Linked DNA regions of Homo sapiens: region 2 is linked to region 1. Evidence: promoter capture Hi-C in human tissues and cell types (Jung and others, 2019). All regions are on one chromosome and are shown on one strand. The core of a region is centred on a gene start or on the middle of the fragment in contact, and the rest is flanking DNA. Distances in the headings are between cores, read along the strand shown. Region 1 holds the start of MEX3B (mex-3 RNA binding family member B). Region 2 overlaps ARNT2 (aryl hydrocarbon receptor nuclear translocator 2).

Region 1 (4,026 bases), core at 836-3,335:
GGGTAGCCGCTGCGCTGCTGCTGGTCCCGCCGCCGAAATAAGAGTCTGTGGAAGCACTGCCAAGCGAGCTGGAGCTGTCGTTGCGGTAGCTAGAGAAAGGCTTGCGGCCGGGGGTGGGCGTGATGCTGGGGGTGGGCTTGCTCCAGAGGCTGCCTGGGCCGGACCCGCCGGACCCATGATGCAGATCGAAGCCCACATCGGTGCCGTTGGCGTGGAAGTCGTTCTCGTCTGTGAGCTCAATGATGCCGCCGGTACGCAGAGCAATGTGCGCCTCAATCTCCTCTCGAGCGCGATCCACGTTCTCTGGCATGCCGGTCACCTCGAACACCGGCTCCTTATCCCGGCTGGGCGTCACGATGTACGTGTGCGTCTGCTGCTGGATGCGCTTGATTGTGGCGCCTTTGGGCCCCACCACGAGCCCCACCACGCGGTAGGGTACCCGCACTTGGATGGTGGTCTGCCCGGGCAGGTTGGGCGGCCCAGGCACCGCGCCGTTGAGTGCCGTGTTCTTATTCCGGGAGGCGCGGATCATGGAGAAGTGCTCGGCAGCAGAGATGATCTCCCTCCGAGCCATGGCCACATCCTCCTTCCTGCCCGTCACAACAAAGACAGGCTCCTCCCCGCGAACTGGGGTCTTGATGTAAGTATTGGTCTTCGCCCGCAGCGCTTTGATTTTACAACCTACGAACCAGGGTGCGGAGGAGGGAGTGGGAGAGAGAGACAGACACGCCCATTATCCTGGGGTAACCGCGGGGACCGGGGACAGCCCGCGTCCAGGACAGCGAGACGGCAGGACAAGAGATGGGCGGAAAGGGGGCGTCTCCCTCACTGACCTCGGGCCGCGCCACGGGCTGGGCAGCGGATCCCACCCGCGAGGCGCTCGAGGAACAGCCCATTGGCTGCCTGGCCCTCCCCCAGTGACTGCAGTCGTCCCGAACCAAACCCGAGAATCCCAGAAAAGTCATCTGGGGAGATGCCGCTGGGATCCAGCTGGGCGCGCCGTCAGCTCTGAAGACACGGGGAAGGGGCTCGGGGAAGGCAGCTGAAGTCGCGATGCCTCAGCGCTGGTCGACTGGGGGTAGGGGGTGGGGTGTGAGTCCCGGGACCCATTGTTCCTCCTCTGGGCTCCATTCCGCTTTGCAGAAATCCAGAATCCTCCTCCCATCCTATGCTCACTCCTCCTCCTTCCTCCTCCCAAAGGACTGATCAAAGGCCCCCTCCCCCAAGCATCTTACATTTAAATTGTCTTTCTGGAGGTGGGCTGGTTGGGGGGCGTTAGGGGAGAAGGCAGTGATTTTAGCAGAAGAAAGTGCATCCCGCCAGGGCAGCGGCGCGGCTCCGGGAGACAGCCTGCCTGCACTTTCTTTGTCTGGGGCGCCGGCCCATCGCGCGGCTCTTCCTCTCTCCCCAAGGCACCCCACGCCGCGGATCCCGATACTGAACACGCCTTCCCCTCGAGGCAGTGGCCTGAGACCCTACACCACCCCCACCCACCTCCCCATCCCTCCTCGACCTACCTTGCCGCCCCACGATCTCGGCGACATGCTCAGAACTGGGTACTGGCACGCACTCGGTCATGTTCACGCTCTTCTTGCGCGGCTCGCTGTCGTACAGAGAGGCGCCCTCGTCACTGTCCAGCCCCAGCAGGGAGAGCTGGTCGAGCGCGAGCTGCAGGGCTCTTTGGTCATCCAGGGTCTCTCCCCCTCCGCTGCTGCCGCCGCCGCCGCCGCCGCTGCCGTTGCGCTCCAGGTCTGCGAACAGCGAGCTGGGCATCGCTCGGCCGTGCGCGCCGCGCCCCCGCCGGCCCTCGGCTCGGCGGCGAGAAGCTGCGGCCACAAAGGCAGCCGGGAAGCGGGTGGTCAGGGGCGGGGAGGCCGGTCGCCTGCTGAGGGCTCCGTTGCTTCTTCCTCGGTGCTGGGAGGAGTGGGTCGCTCCGTGCGGTCCGCACCGGGCAGTGGCTGCAGGAGCCCCCACCTGGGTCCCCACCCCAGACCTGCTGGCGGGTGGGGTGGGGGCAGAGCTCTAGCGGTGGCCGCGCGTGCCCCCCGAGTGCCCGGCTGGCTGGCCGCAATGCCGAGCGAAAAGCGAGCAGGCGAGCGACAGAAGCGTTTCTTTAAGGAGCCCCTCCCCGGCTCCTCCACTCCCTCCCTCCCGCCCGCCCGCCCGCCCTCACTCAGCGCTTTTTCCTCCTCTCCTCCCCGCCTCTTGACTGAGCCTCTGCAGCCAGACGACTCCGGAGGGGGACGAGGGAGGCGCAACGTCACAGGCGGGAGCTGACACCACAATGCTACTGACACTATCGCTGGGGGAGGCGATTGGCGCGCGCCAGGCCGGGGGCGGGAGGAGGCCGCGGGTTGAGCGAGCGGAGAGAGAGCGCCACCCCCCACCCCCGCGCTCGCCGCAGCCCGCCCCGTCCTCCTCCCGGCCGCGCCCCTCCCCCGCCGCCGCTAACGCCTCTCTTTGTTGTCTAATGCGGGACTGGCAGGCTCGGGACACTTGGATGTACCTATCAGCCGAGGACAATCATTGTCCCTAAGTCTCCTCCCTCGCCTGACTGAGAAAAGAAAACGCGCCCAACTCTGATGCCTGGAGCCGGGCTCTAAAAGAGCGGTCCTCAGGAAGTCCCGTTAGTGGCTCCAAATAAACCATCCGTGGAGCCAAAGCTTCCTCTGTGAGAAGAGTCTGTAGTCCGCCCAAAAGGGCGACCCGAGCCCTCCGACACGGAAAACGGGACTCCAGGTCTTGGGGCGCACGGGCAGAGTGACTCCCGGCGCGGGTTGTCCACCTGCGCGGGAGCGCACGAGACACAAAAGCACACGCCCGCCCACACTGGCAACCGCGCGCGCGCGCGCCCGCGCCTGCATTTCTGTCTCCTTGGGCAGCACTTCGCCCAACTGGCCCTGAAACTGAGGATGGGAAAGCTAAAAGCTGGCTGCCGCGCGAGCTCGGCCCGCCCGGCCGCTGGCGACCTCTGGAATGCATGGCACCAGTGTCCAGCACACGCCCGGCGCCCGGGCCGAGACCCTGCGGGTTCTGACACGCGCACGAGCGCCGCGCCGCCACCGCGGGGACGCAGGCCACAGCGCCAGCGGGCGGCGCGGGCGTGCGCGCCCGCTGTTCCCATCCCTCCCCTCCGTGCCCCGCGGCCGAGCATGCGCAGTGCGCGCGAGGAGCGGGCGGGCCCTTTAAGGCGGGCGCTGCGGAGCGCGCGCCGGCCCCGCCCGCGGCCCCGCCCCGACGGGAGGTGAGCGCTCCCTGCCCGGCCGCTCTTTGTGCGCTTCTCGGGGTGGGGGTGGCGGCAGAGGGAGGTTGCGACGGCACTTGCCGGCGAGGACGGCGAGCTGCGCCCCCTCCCGGATCTCCCAGGGACCGTCTCCGAGTGCGAGAGAGAAGGAAGGAGGATTTGAGGGGCGGGCCGGGGCGGTGCGCGCTGGTCCTCTCCGCGCGCATCCCCCTCCGCCGCCCACTAGGGCGGACGCCCCTTCGGGCCCCGCGCGCTCTGCTGTCCTTTGTTCCGGGAGCCGCCGGGCTCGCCGCGCCCTTTGCGTCCCGCTGCGGATCGTTCCGCAGAGCGGCTGGGCCCGCGGTTCATAGAGTCGCCCAAGATCCTCACAGAGGGACGTCTTCCCAAAACAATGAGGCCATGCGGCCGCAGCCGCACACGGGCTGACTGGGGAGATCTCGTGGTGCCGCGGGGCGGTCCCGGGGCTCGAAGGCAGAGGCTCCCCTAGGTGTGCCCTGCCTGACCCCGGCTACAGGAACGAGCGCTGTGGGCCTCGGTTTCTCACCCGTAAAATGAAGAAAATAATCCCCGCCTTTACCACCTCGTGGGTCGTTCGGAAGATTAAATGCGACAGTGGATGGGCGCGCGCTTACAAATCAGTAGACAGTTCCGCAAGCGCCTTTACTTTTGAGAACGCGGTGGTGCAGCTCCCTTCACCGCTTGCTTACCTGGAGCTGTCTTGGGAAAGAGGTGCTGATTATTTCCTTGGGGAAATGGGTTTAGAAGCCACTTACAGTGGTTAT
Region 2 (4,001 bases), core at 633-3,132, 1.6 Mb before region 1:
TGAATTGTCTGATGGTAGCTGAGTGCAAACTCCATCTTATTGCTGTATTTTCTCCATCAAATTAAACCCAACTTATTTCTTCCAGCTTGGCTGTTTAAACATTCAGTCTCATCATTTGTTTTGAGGAAGGTGCACCTTTTTCCTAGGGTATTTACGACACCTTGGGCCTTATGCAGCTCAGGAAAATTAGAAGCTAATCTCTGATCTTCTTTTAATTGTGGTTCCTAGTGAGATACTCATTACCAGGTTTCAGGGTCCAGTTGAAGGCAGTCAGCTGGCTGGCAGTCCTTTAGTCCAAGTGGGTGTCAGGAAATTACAGCATTGAAAAATAAACAGAATTAGTAAAGCATGGACGAATTAAATAGCTACTCAACACAGATGAATAGAGAATTAATGACTTAGAAAGTAGAATGAAAGAAATTACAGAGAATTCAGCACAGAATCAGAGTTCAAAAATATAAAAGAGTGGCTGGGAGACAGAGAGGTGAGACCTCCTCCTTCTTATGTAAGTTAGAGTTTCAGGTAGAGATGGTAGGGAGAACAGGGAAGTTAGGTGTATTAAGATTCAAAGAGAAGAGGCTGATACTTTTTCAGAATCGATGAAAGTCATTGAGCCTCAGATTCAGGAGCAACAACAAATTCCAAGCGAGATAAATAAAGAGATATTCAAACCTTAACTAGATGTAGGGAAAATAGAAAATAACAAAGAGAAAAACTTAGAAGCAGTAACAAACAGCAGACATATCACCTATACAGGAGCAGCAATTAGATTGATGAATGACTTCTAAACAGTGATCATGCATGCCAGACGACAATACAATATTTTAATATGCTAGTTGAAAATAATTGTAAACCTAGAATTCTATACTTAGACAATTTATCTTTTAAGAATGAGGAGATAAAACATTTTTAGATAAAAATTTGAGAGGATTTGAGACCTCACTAAAGGAACTTCTGAAGGTGTACTTCTGGAAGATTTAAGTAAGTGACCGCAAATGGAAGTTCTCAGATGCAGTGAGCAAAGGAAATAATGGGCACAAGAATAAAGATAAACATGCTTCGGCTATCAATAATAACAACATGTACTTTGTGAGGTGATCAGAGGTAAAGCTGTGTAGTTTAGAACTATTAAACTTTTACTAAGTAAGTATAATAATATTTCTAGAGTAATAATTAAGGCATATAGAGTATACAACCACCAACATGTGATATTATTCATATTAAATATTTCTACACTTACTTGTATTTATATATGTAAGGAGAAGAGTCTGGATTTACATATACCAAAAAGTTAACCATGATTATCACTTTTTGCGTAAGTGTGTTTCTTAGCCTTTTTGGTCTTGTAATTTATAACAGAATAAAAATTTTAAAAAGAAAACGTGTTCCTAACTTACGTATCATACTTTATATTATGTAGTTAAAAACATTTGCTTTTAAATCAAATGTATGTTGGTTTGCATATTTCAGCTCTGTCACTTAGCTGTGTGACTTCAGGCAGGTTCTTAGCCTCTTTGCTTTGATGTCTTGTAAAATGAGAATAATAATAATAATGATATCCACCTCATAAAGCAGTTGTGTGTACATGAGGGGACACATGAAATGTGTTTCGTGCAGCACCTAATGGCGTCTGTGCCCAGTAAACATTAGCTGTTACCATCAGCGGGTCAACGTCACCATCATCCTAGACCTGAGGATCATTTCCACAAAGAGTTGAGGACTGATGCTCAATGGATCTGTGCAGTGGCAGCATTAAGGAGTTAGTGTGGAAACACACAGGAATTCCTAACCCTAGGAACATGTTGCTTACACTGGGAACGCTCACTATGTGATTATGAGTCACATAATCAGTTATGTCTAATGTATTTTTTCAGTGTCTACTGAGATAAGCATGTGTATATATATATACTTATTTGAACTATTGATAGATTTCCCAAGGTTGAGCTATATGTATCTTCCTGAATAAAAGGCACATAGTAACACTGCATGGTTCTTTTAATATTGTTATTAAAAGATATGATGAATTTGATTTGCTAAGATCCATATTAGTAAGTGAGTTTGCTAATTCCCATCCATTATGAGTAGTGAGATCTTTCTGCAAATATGCTAGAATTTGTAGTGTGGTCAGTGAAGCTTTTGATGATATTTTGTGTGTGTGTGTGAAAGAGAGGGAGAAAGAGGCAGAGAGAGAGAGAGAGAGAGAGAGTCATACTATATTGGTCAAGATTCTTTCAGCTCCAAAGACAGACAGCCCAGTTCAAACTAACTCTTAGACAATCCATAAAGGAATTTTTCATAAAACTGGGATATCCAGGCAAGCGTTTGGCTTCAAGTAAAGATCCAAGAGTGCTAGCAGTTACTTAAGGCACTGTTTCTCTTCCTCGTGGTCCCTTAGCTTTCCCCACCTTGTGTTGGTTTTATTCTCAGGCAGGTTCTACCCAAGTGGTGGCCCAGTTGCATCTTACCAATGAAAACTCCAGCAGGGGTCTTAGGTAGAATAGCCCTGCATGATATTCCTGAACCAGGCCCTGTTGCCAGGGAACACCGTGCTATGACTGACCAGATCTGGGCATGTATACACCCCAGGAACCCTCATGGGGTCAGACTTACCTGGGCCGCAAGGACTGTGGGTGAGAGAGGGAACATTCCTCAGGCAGGGTTCTCTGGGTTGTCCCCAGAAGGGAGACGAGGACAGGACAGGCAGTACAATAGATGTCTATGCCTCGTTGGCAAGGTACTTTTGTGTCACAGGTTTCAGACTTCATCTGGTTTGCACACCACTCCCATGAGGTTTTATTTTGTGACATTTCATTCCCACTTTTATTGGGAAGATGTCCTCATCCAAGATGTTCGGAGGCTGGCCCACTTTGGCAGGATGATAAAGTGGCAAAGTCAGGTCCCTCCTTCCACGGGCTGCTCTTCCAGTCAGATGTTGCCTCTCTCTGAGTGCCTCACAGTCCAGCCATGGCAGTGGTATTGCCCATGTCCCACTTGGTTTTATTATGGCATTCTTTTGTCTGTAATCATCAAATAAAAAATGTACCTGTGGGTGAAAGTCAAAGTGGTTGTATTCTTACTGCTTCACTATTGCCTGGAACCTTTCCCTTTCAGTGGTCTGAGTCATAATTTTTCTTTGGTTTGTTGACAAAACAGTTTATACTGTTTTCTTCCAAAACAGCCCTCAAAAAAAAAAAATAGGTAAACAGAGAATGGATTTCTAATTTGTCTTACCAGTTCAGGCTTCCGGCAGGAATTGAAACCCGGAATCTTTGTTTTGAAGACAGTAAAGTGGGGCTGCCTATATCTATGGCTGCTTTTAAGAATCTGACGTGAATTTTATCCAGTTCCTTGTGCAAAATAAATCCTTTTTTTGTAGCAAAAGGGGTTGAAGTTGAAGGAACACATGAGATAGTCAACAAACGAATTACTAAAATAAAACTATATCATGAACATGCTTGTGCAAACTTGGGATAATAGGCCATATCTGCCCACCTGTGGCCAAGTCTTGGCACACTGGTTTTTGTTTTATCGAAGAGCTGCTCACAGTAGCCTTGTTTCTGTCAAGAAAGATGAGCAGAGACTCAAACATATCTCCGAGTAGCTCACAACAAGAATACCCTTTGGAGGATCCTAGAGTGTTGTGCAGTCTTTGACTTCTGAAATATACAGAAGACTTACTGTTTCTGCAAGTATGGCTCCAAAATGGTGGTCATTTTTTGTTTTTGTTTTTGTTTTTTTGAGTGAAGAAAGGATAATTTATTTAAAAATAATAATGAAACTAGTGGCTATCCTTCTGAGACAAAAGAAATATCATATACTAAAATTCCAATTTACTTAAAAATTTAAATATAAACCTAAATCAATAAAAATATTGGGAGAAACTTTAGCAGACTGAATGTTCAACCCAGAGGTTAAAGATAGAAATATCTGAATGTGTAAATATTACAATCTTTTTTGATCATTTGTTTTGTTTTGTTTTGTTTTTATTTTTTCCAAAAAAA

What was found. Contacts are between HindIII fragments. The study calls those that stand out against the background at their distance.
Region 2: a contact is called between a fragment that was not itself captured here and the fragment with the promoter of MEX3B in region 1, in 1 of the 25 tissues and cell types used here (dorsolateral prefrontal cortex).

The regions. Positions count from the first base shown.
Region 1 is chr15:82,043,933-82,047,958 of GRCh38, forward strand. MEX3B (mex-3 RNA binding family member B) reads right to left here and starts at 2,086. Exons shown (of 2, transcript NM_032246.6): 1 at 1,518-2,086; 2 at 1-681. The coding sequence starts at 1,773. RefSeq lists silencers at 1,866-2,165, 3,016-3,335 and an enhancer at 2,389-3,335. The HindIII fragment of the contact is 10,437 bases long and covers 1-4,026 here.
Region 2 is chr15:80,421,595-80,425,595 of GRCh38, forward strand. The region is part of intron 1 of ARNT2 (aryl hydrocarbon receptor nuclear translocator 2); the gene reads left to right. Among named protein-coding and RNA genes, the nearest start is that of ARNT2, 19 kb to the left of the region's middle. The HindIII fragment of the contact is 6,048 bases long and covers 1-4,001 here.